2 separate regions of the Homo sapiens genome follow, and region 2 is linked to region 1. Evidence: promoter capture Hi-C in 16 types of primary human blood cells and fetal thymus (Javierre and others, 2016). All regions are on one chromosome and are shown on one strand. Each heading gives the region's core, a stretch centred on a gene start or on the middle of the fragment in contact. The rest is flanking DNA. Distances are from core to core; before and after follow the strand shown.

What was found. Contacts are between HindIII fragments. The CHiCAGO score rates a contact against its expected background, and 5 or more counts as called.
Region 2: a contact is called between the fragment with the promoter of CABS1 here and the fragment with the promoter of UGT2A3 in region 1, in 5 of 17 cell types (neutrophils, monocytes, non-activated CD4 T cells and 2 more). The highest score is 10.3, in neutrophils.

What each region holds. Positions count from the first base shown.
Region 1 is chr4:68,949,363-68,953,510 of GRCh38, forward strand. It overlaps UGT2A3 (UDP glucuronosyltransferase family 2 member A3), which reads right to left and starts at 2,442. Exons shown (of 6, transcript NM_024743.4): 1 at 1,684-2,442. The coding sequence starts at 2,398. The HindIII fragment of the contact is 6,967 bases long and covers 1-2,919 here.
Region 2 is chr4:70,331,893-70,336,235 of GRCh38, forward strand. It overlaps CABS1 (calcium binding protein, spermatid associated 1), which reads left to right and starts at 3,089. Exons shown (of 2, transcript NM_033122.4): 1 at 3,089-4,343. The coding sequence starts at 3,148. The coding sequence ends at 4,335. The HindIII fragment of the contact is 765 bases long and covers 3,052-3,816 here.

The sequences.
Region 1 (4,148 bases), core at 1,192-3,691:
GGATGGGGAAACGAATCAGCGGAGCAGTTAGTACATGCACAACATTTATAATTAAGTTTGCTGTCTTATATTGTAACACATCAAGGTGCCCCCAAGCTAATAAACGTGTAACCATCAAGGAACACTGATCCCAGATCACCGTAACAGATATAACAATGAAAAATTTGAAAAAGCATGATAAATGCCAATATGTGATAGAGTCAAAAGTACACACTTGCTGTTGGAAATATTACGCCAAATTGATTAGCTTGACTCAAGGTTTTCAAAAACCTTTAATTTGTAAATTGCAATTTTTGTGAAGGACAATAAAGCAATGTATAATAAAATGAAATACACCTGTGCGTAAGCACTTATGGAAATAAATCCTTGAATTGAAATTGACTGATATCCCTTTTCCTATAGTTGTTTGAATATATACTCTTGATTTAGACTCACAATAGATAATTCTATAAAATATATAATAATCAATAATTTAGTAAGTTGGAGCTACATAATAAATATAGTTATTAAATGAATTTCTTATATATCAAGCTGCTCCATGATTTTTAAAGAATTGTTGGGGAATTTCTGAATGCATGGCCAGAACCCACTTTTGTTTATTGGAAAATGCTCTTTCACCCCTTTGATAACACTTTTGTTTTATTTTAAATTTCAATCTTGTCAGGGGGCTTTTACTATAATCCTATTTTACCAAAATTTGCCAGTGACCTCTATATAGCTGTACCCCTTTAAATTAATATCTGAATGTAGACTTGAGGCCAAGAGATTTGTATTGTTTACCTAGATCCATAAAGCCTGGTAGGCTATCTGCAGCTAGGCACAGCTTACTGAATGGAAAATTATTTAAAGCAAATCAATACATGTAAATTCAAATCATGTCTAAGGCTAAGGACATTTGAACTGGGATCCTCTGAATATTAGTTCTGTGAAACAGTCTATGCATAAGAATTCGTTGGAATACATTAAACAATATTTTAGTGTCGAATATAATTGTACCTTTTTTCATGTTTCTACATAATTCTCAAACATATTTGGATAAAAACATGTCTTGCATTGACCAGCTCTGATCACAACTATATGAAAATTGCAAAGCAAAACAACTTTTTATCAGTAAAGCAAGGAAATAAAAATAAGTCAAGTAGGTGTATATCAGTAAAGTAAAAATTCTACTATCTTATGCCCCACAAGACCGTAAGTCTTTTAACTTTTTATAATATTTTTTCAAGTTTTTGTGAAGTAATCACCTAAGAAATTAAAGAATTCTAGAAAATGTTCAATTTAATGACTCTTGAAAAATTAATTCAAAGAAGACCTTCTGAAGATTTTCTTAAATACATGATGAGAGAGAAAATAATGATTAGCATTTTATTTCAATAGAAATTCTATAAAATTCAGACTAACAATCAGTGATTCTCAAAAATATGTGATGTTGATTTGCGCTATTTGGAGGAAATACAAAATATAATCTCTTAGTTATTGATGATCATTTTTAAGTATATTACTGGTATTAAGAAAGTAGGTTATCTTACGCTTAGAACAAATACACTTTCTTTATGAAAAACAGCTACAACATTTTCTAAAAAAACTCATTGACCTGCATATATATGTCATAGACAATGTATGACAATTTTTAAAAATATTTCTTTTGATAACTAAATTAAAAATAAAACAAAAGTGTCTTACCTAATGCCTTACTATAAAACTCTTCCCAAAAATGATAGTCGTAATCCTGAATCCAGAAGTGGAACAAAACTGAAAGCATTGAATTTTTTACTCTTTCCAGAAAGGTCATTCTGTCTGTTAGTCCTGTCATAGGCACAGGTACATAGGAAAGTGGAGCTGGAAGTTTCCCACAGCTTCGCTCCATATTGCCTCCTACAGAAATTCTAAGTGTGAGCACAAAAGGGACTGCAAGCAACTCAGCCATCAGGTCTCCACAGGGAATCACAGGGTCTATAAGCATTACATCGTAGTTGGTTTCCTGTAGCTTCTTCATAAGCGTCTGATTGTAGATAAAGCTCTCACACATCATTTTTAAAGTTCCTCTTATTTCAACAAAAAAATCATTTAATTTTATAACTGATTGCCAGGTTGATAAGCCTGGCAAGACATTCAGAGCTAGGTCAACAAATATTTCATTTTCTTCTGTTCTGTCCTGTGGCATATGGACCACCTCAAATTTCAATGCAGAAGGCTTCCTGTAGTCAATTAACGAAGGCTTTGAGTGAGTCAATACTGTTACCTCATGGCCTCTCACTATGAGCTCTTCTAGAATGACCTTGACATTAAGCCAATGGCTCATGTCACAGGGCCACACCAGGACTTTCCCACAGAATCCACAGCCAACACAGAAGAGCTGCAGGAGCAGAAATACCAAAGCTGACTTGTCAGACCTCATGATGGCAGTTCCCTCACACACTGATCTGCAATGGTTTTGTAGTTACTAAGCAAGGAGTTGAAATGACAATATAAGCACAGAAGTTAAAAATTAATATTTTAAGAGTAAAGTTCACTGGTGGTTGCCAGTTTAACATGTACTGAAGGTATCAAAAAAATGCAATGTATCAGGGAAAAGTTGTTCCAACCCTCTAGAACTTAGAAATAAAATACATAAATATACTTTTATTACCTGGATTGATGATAAAGAAAAAAATTTTTCAAGTCTTTAGATTTAATAATTCATGTGCAGAAACATGCACACAATCACACTTACATTCATTCCACACTAAGTCCAAGGCATCAGATGGTTTAGGACAGCACATGTTTCACATCCCTTGCTCACAAGGACAATACAAAGGTTTACTGAGAATATACTTAGAGAGTTTGGGTAACTATTTTGACTAATTTTATATAATAAGTACAAAGTGTTCAGTATTTCAGAGGGGAAAATGCACAATTGCTTTAATATGAAATAATAAAAGCTTTAATAAGGCATTTGACTTAGGAGGTGAGATGAAAGCTTTGATAGGATTTACTGTTGCCAAAGGAAGCATTTCACAATCGATAGAAGCATACAAAAGTATAGGATATTTGAAAATCATTCCAGTGAGTAGTGGTCACAGAGAAAGTTCAGAGCAGGACGTTACAGAAGAAAGTTAGTTTGAAATTGGAGAACATAATTTTAAATAAAAAATTATGAGTTTGAATCATAATTTATAGGCAAATAATTATTTACTCAAGTTTTAAAGGATAGTCACAAGATCAACCTTTTCTTTAGCAAGAAACTCTTGCATCTCAACACAGAGTGGTATGTAAAGGTAAGAGTTTAAAACAGGGAAAACGATAAAAATTATATATTAGTTACTGAGACATGTCAACCTAATAGAATGAAACATAAATTGTTAATAGTTAAATGCAAGAAATTAATTTAAAATTTGAATTTACTGATAATATCTGAGATAGGAAAAAATGTGTAGGAGAAAAGACATGGTTGTGGTTTCTGTCTTAATAAGCAGAAGTTTGATAATGACATTAGGTAAAATATTATGCACAAAACTTAGAGCAGTTTTCAGAATCAATATCATCTAACTGGGTTATTTTTCCTGTAGTTACTGTTCAAATTTTCAACAACTGTATGTAGATGTGAACAAAAAATAAAATTTTAGGAATCCCCAACCATCTAAACGGACCCTTACTCTCAGCAAAGAGCATTTCAAAGTTAATCTCAAAAACTAGTTGAGGCAATGATGAGAAGTGGGGTGGTGGGATAGGATATGCCTCATTATACCCTCCCCCCTTTCTGAATTCAGGAAAAACTCACTAGCACTACCATCAACGCAGACTTTAAAACCAATAGAACAGACTCACTAATTTTGATAAGAAACATTTACAATCTATTCTCTCTGAAGCCTGTTGCTTGACAGCTTTATCTGCATGATAACACCTTGGTATTAACAGCCCTTTATCTTAACCCAGACATTCTTGTCTGTTAATTCTATAACTTAGACAACAATATAACTCAACCAATTGCCAATAGAAAATCCTTGAATTTGCCTATGACCTGGAAGCCCCACTCCCAGTTGTCCTGCCTATCCAGACCAAGTCAATATATAACCTACATGTATGGATTGATGTCTAATGTCACTCTAAATTGCATTAAAACTGTGTAGCCTGAGCACCATGATGACATGTTCTTAGGGTCTCTGGAG
Region 2 (4,343 bases), core at 1,839-4,338, 1.4 Mb after region 1:
TAAAATACTGGCAAACCGAATCCAGCAGCACATCAAAAAGCTTATCCACCATGATCAAGTGGGCTTCATCCCTGGGATGCAAGGCTGGTTCAATATACGCAAATCAATAAATGTAATCCAGCATATAAACAGAGCCAAAGACAAAAACCACATGATTATCTCAATAGATGCAGAAAAGGCCTTTGACAAAATTCAACAACCCTTCATGCTAAAAACTCTCAATAAATTAGGTATTGATGGGACGTATTTCAAAATAATAAGAGCTATCTATGACAAACCCACAGCCAATATCATACTGAATGGGCAAAAACTGGAAGCATTCCCTTTGAAAACTGGCACAAGACAGGGATGCCCTCTCTCACCGCTCCTATTCAACATAGTGTTGGAAGTTCTGGCCAGGGCAATCAGGCAGGAGAAGGAAATAAAGGGTATTCAATTAGGAAAAGAGGAAGTCAAATTGTCCCTGTTTGCAGACGACATGATTGTTTATGTAGAAAACCCCATCGTCTCAGCCCAAAATCTCCTTAAGCTGATAAGCAACTTCAGCAAAGTCTCAGGATACAAAATCAATGTACAAAAATCACAAGCATTCTTATACACCAACAACAGACAAACAGAGAGCCAAATCATGGGTGAACTCCCATTCACAATTGCTTCAAAGAGAATAAAATACCTAGGAATCCAACTTACAAGGGATGTGAAGGACCTCTTCAAGGAGAACTACAAACCACTGCTCAAGGAAATAAAAGAGGACACAAACAAATGGAAGAACATTCCATGCTCATGGGTAGGAAGAATCAATATCGTGAAAATGGCCATACTGCCCAAGGTAATTTATAGATTCAATGCCATCCCCATCAAGCTACCAATGACTTTCTTCACAGAATTGGAAAAAACTACTTTAAAGTTCATATGGAACCAAAAAAGAGCCCGCATTGCCAAGTCAATCCTAAGCCAAAAGAACAAAGCTGGAGGCATCACACTACCTGACTTCAAACTATACTACAAGGCTACAGTAACCAAAACAGCATGGTACTGGTACCAAAACAGAGATATAGATCAATGGAACACAACAGAGCCCTCAGAAATAATGCCGCATATCTACAACTATCTGATCTTTGACAAACCTGAGAAAAACAAGCAATGGGGAAAGGATTCCCTATTTAATAAATGGTGCTGGGAAAACTGGCTAGCCATATGTAGAAAGCTGAAACTGGATCCCTTCCTTACACCTTATACAAAAATCAATTCAAGATGGATTAAAGATTTAAACGTTAAACCTAAAACCATAAAAACCCTAGAAGAAAACCTAGGCATTACCATTCAGGACATAGGCGTGGGCAAGGACTTCATGTCCAAAACACCAAAAGCAATGGCAACAAAAGACAAAATTGACAAATGAGATCTAATTAAACTAAAGAGCTTCTGCACAGCAAAAGAAACTACCATCAGAGTGAACAGGCAACCTACAACATGGGAGAAAATTTTCGCATCCTACTCATCTGACAAAGGGCTAATATCCAGAATCTACAATGAACTCAAACAAATTTACAAGAAAAAAACAAACAACCCCATCAAAAAGTGGGCGAAGGACATGAACAGACACTTCTCAAAAGAAGACATTTATGCAGCCAAAAAACACATGAAGAAATGCTCATCATCACTGGCCATCAGAGAAATGCAAATCAAAACCACTATGAGATATCATCTCACACCAGTTAGAATGGCAATCATTAAAAAGTCAGGAAACAACAGGTGCTGGAGAGGATGTGGAGAAATAGGAACACTTTTACACTGTTGGTGGGACTGTAAACTAGTTCAACCATTGTGGAAGTCAGTGTGGCGATTCCTCAGGGATCTAGAACTAGAAATACCATTTGACCCAGCCATCCCATTACTGGGTATATACCCAAATGAGTATAAATCATGCTGCTATAAAGACACATGCACACGTATGTTTATTGCGGCACTATTCACAATAGCAAAGACTTGGAACCAACCCAAATGTCCAACAATGATAGACTGGATTAAGAAAATGTGGCACATATACACCATGGAATACTATGCAGCCATAAAAAATGATGAGTTCATATCCTTTGTAGGGACATGGATGAAATTGGAAACCATCATTCTCAGTAAACTATCGCAAGAACAAAAAACCAAACACCGCATATTCTCACTCATAGATGGGAATTGAACAATGAGATCACATGGACACAGGAAGGGGAATATCACACTCTGGGGACTGTGGTGGGGTTGGGGGAGGGGGGAGGGATAGTATTGGGAGATATACCTAATGCTAGATGACACATTAGTGGGTGCAGCGCACCAGCATGGCACATGTATACATATGTAACTAACCTGCACAATGTGCACATGTACCCTAAAACTTAGAGTATAATAAAAAAAATAAAATAAAATAAAATAAAAATAAATGAAAAAAAAAAAAACAAAAAACAAAAAAAGAAAAAAAAAAAAAAAAGACCCAAACAGGCCAATAACTATTAGTTATTATCTCTACTGAAAAAGTGGGACTTCCTGTTATGAATAAGGGAACTAACTGAATTCCCTGCTACCTAATTACCTTCTGTAGCTATACTTACTGACAAAAACACCATTAATTTTTTTAGATACCAATTTTTTTTAATACTATGAATCTTAAGGGAAAATGGCTTCACCTCAAAAATACTCTGTTACTTGCTTGGAAGATAGACGACTTTAAGCTGATGCTGATAAACTTGTGGCTTCCAAAGTTTTCCTTACTAATTCTAAACCCAAAAGGTGCCTGGCAGTCTCTGCTATGTCTGTTTCAAGTAACCCTAGCTCTATATCAGGAGACATTTTCCTTATAAACAGAAACATGGTAAATCTTAAGTTCCCTGCAATTGAAATGCTTGGCTGTGAATTTGATTTCATAATCAGAGCGGACTCTATAGTCTTTTCATTCAATATTCCTGCAATTAGATAACCAATCGCAGCCTAGAAACAACCTCCAAGGAGACCCAGTGACATTGCTCCCATAGTTGATGCAACAATCACCATGATGACCCAAGCTTTAATCACTCTGATGAACACTGCTCTCCTGCCTAGAGATACCACTGAGTCCAGAAGCAAGACCTGTGAGAGTGCACAGTGCCACTTCGCCCCATGGCTGAAGATGGTTTGCCCAAAATTTATTCTCATCCTCCAACAGAAAGCAGTAAAACACCAACTGCAGCAACCATTTTCTTTGGGGCTGACAATGCTATTCCCAAATCAGAAACAACTATTACTTCAGAAGGAGACCACGTCACTTCAGTAAATGAATATATGCTAGAAAGCGATTTTTCAACAACTACAGACAACAAACTGACAGCTAAAAAGGAAAAACTCAAATCAGAAGATGATATGGGGACCGACTTTATTAAGTCAACAACTCACCTACAGAAAGAAATTACCTCTCTGACTGGCACTACAAACTCCATAACAAGAGACTCTATTACCGAACATTTCATGCCAGTGAAAATTGGGAATATTTCATCACCAGTTACTACTGTTTCTTTAATAGATTTTTCCACTGACATAGCAAAAGAAGATATCCTCTTAGCTACCATTGACACAGGAGATGCAGAGATCTCAATAACCTCTGAAGTCTCTGGCACACTAAAGGACAGCAGTGCTGGTGTTGCTGACGCTCCTGCCTTTCCACGTAAAAAGGATGAAGCTGATATGAGCAATTATAATTCCTCCATCAAATCCAATGTCCCTGCTGATGAGGCTGTCCAGGTCACTGATTCCACTATTCCTGAGGCTGAAATCCCTCCTGCTCCTGAAGAAAGCTTCACTACTATTCCAGACATAACTGCCCTTGAAGAAGAGAAAATAACCGAAATTGACCTAAGTGTTTTAGAAGATGACACCAGTGCTGTGGCTACATTAACTGACTCTGATGAGAAGTTTATCACTGTGTTTGAACTCACTACCTCTGCTGAAAAAGACAAAGATAAACGGGAAGATACTCTGCTAACTGATGAAGAAACTACCGAGGGAGCCAGTATTTGGATGGAGAGAGATACTGCAAATGAAGCAGAGACCCATTCTGTTTTGCTTACTGCTGTTGAATCCAGATATGACTTCGTTGTCCCTGCATCAATAGCTACAAACCTAGTGGAAGAATCATCTACAGAAGAAGATTTGTCTGAAACTGATAATACAGAGACTGTACCTAAGATCACTGAGCCATTTTCTGGAACTACCTCTGTATTAGATACCCCAGACTATAAGGAAGACACCTCCACAACTGAAACGGATATCTTTGAACTACTGAAAGAAGAACCCGATGAGTTCATGATTTAAAAGCAACA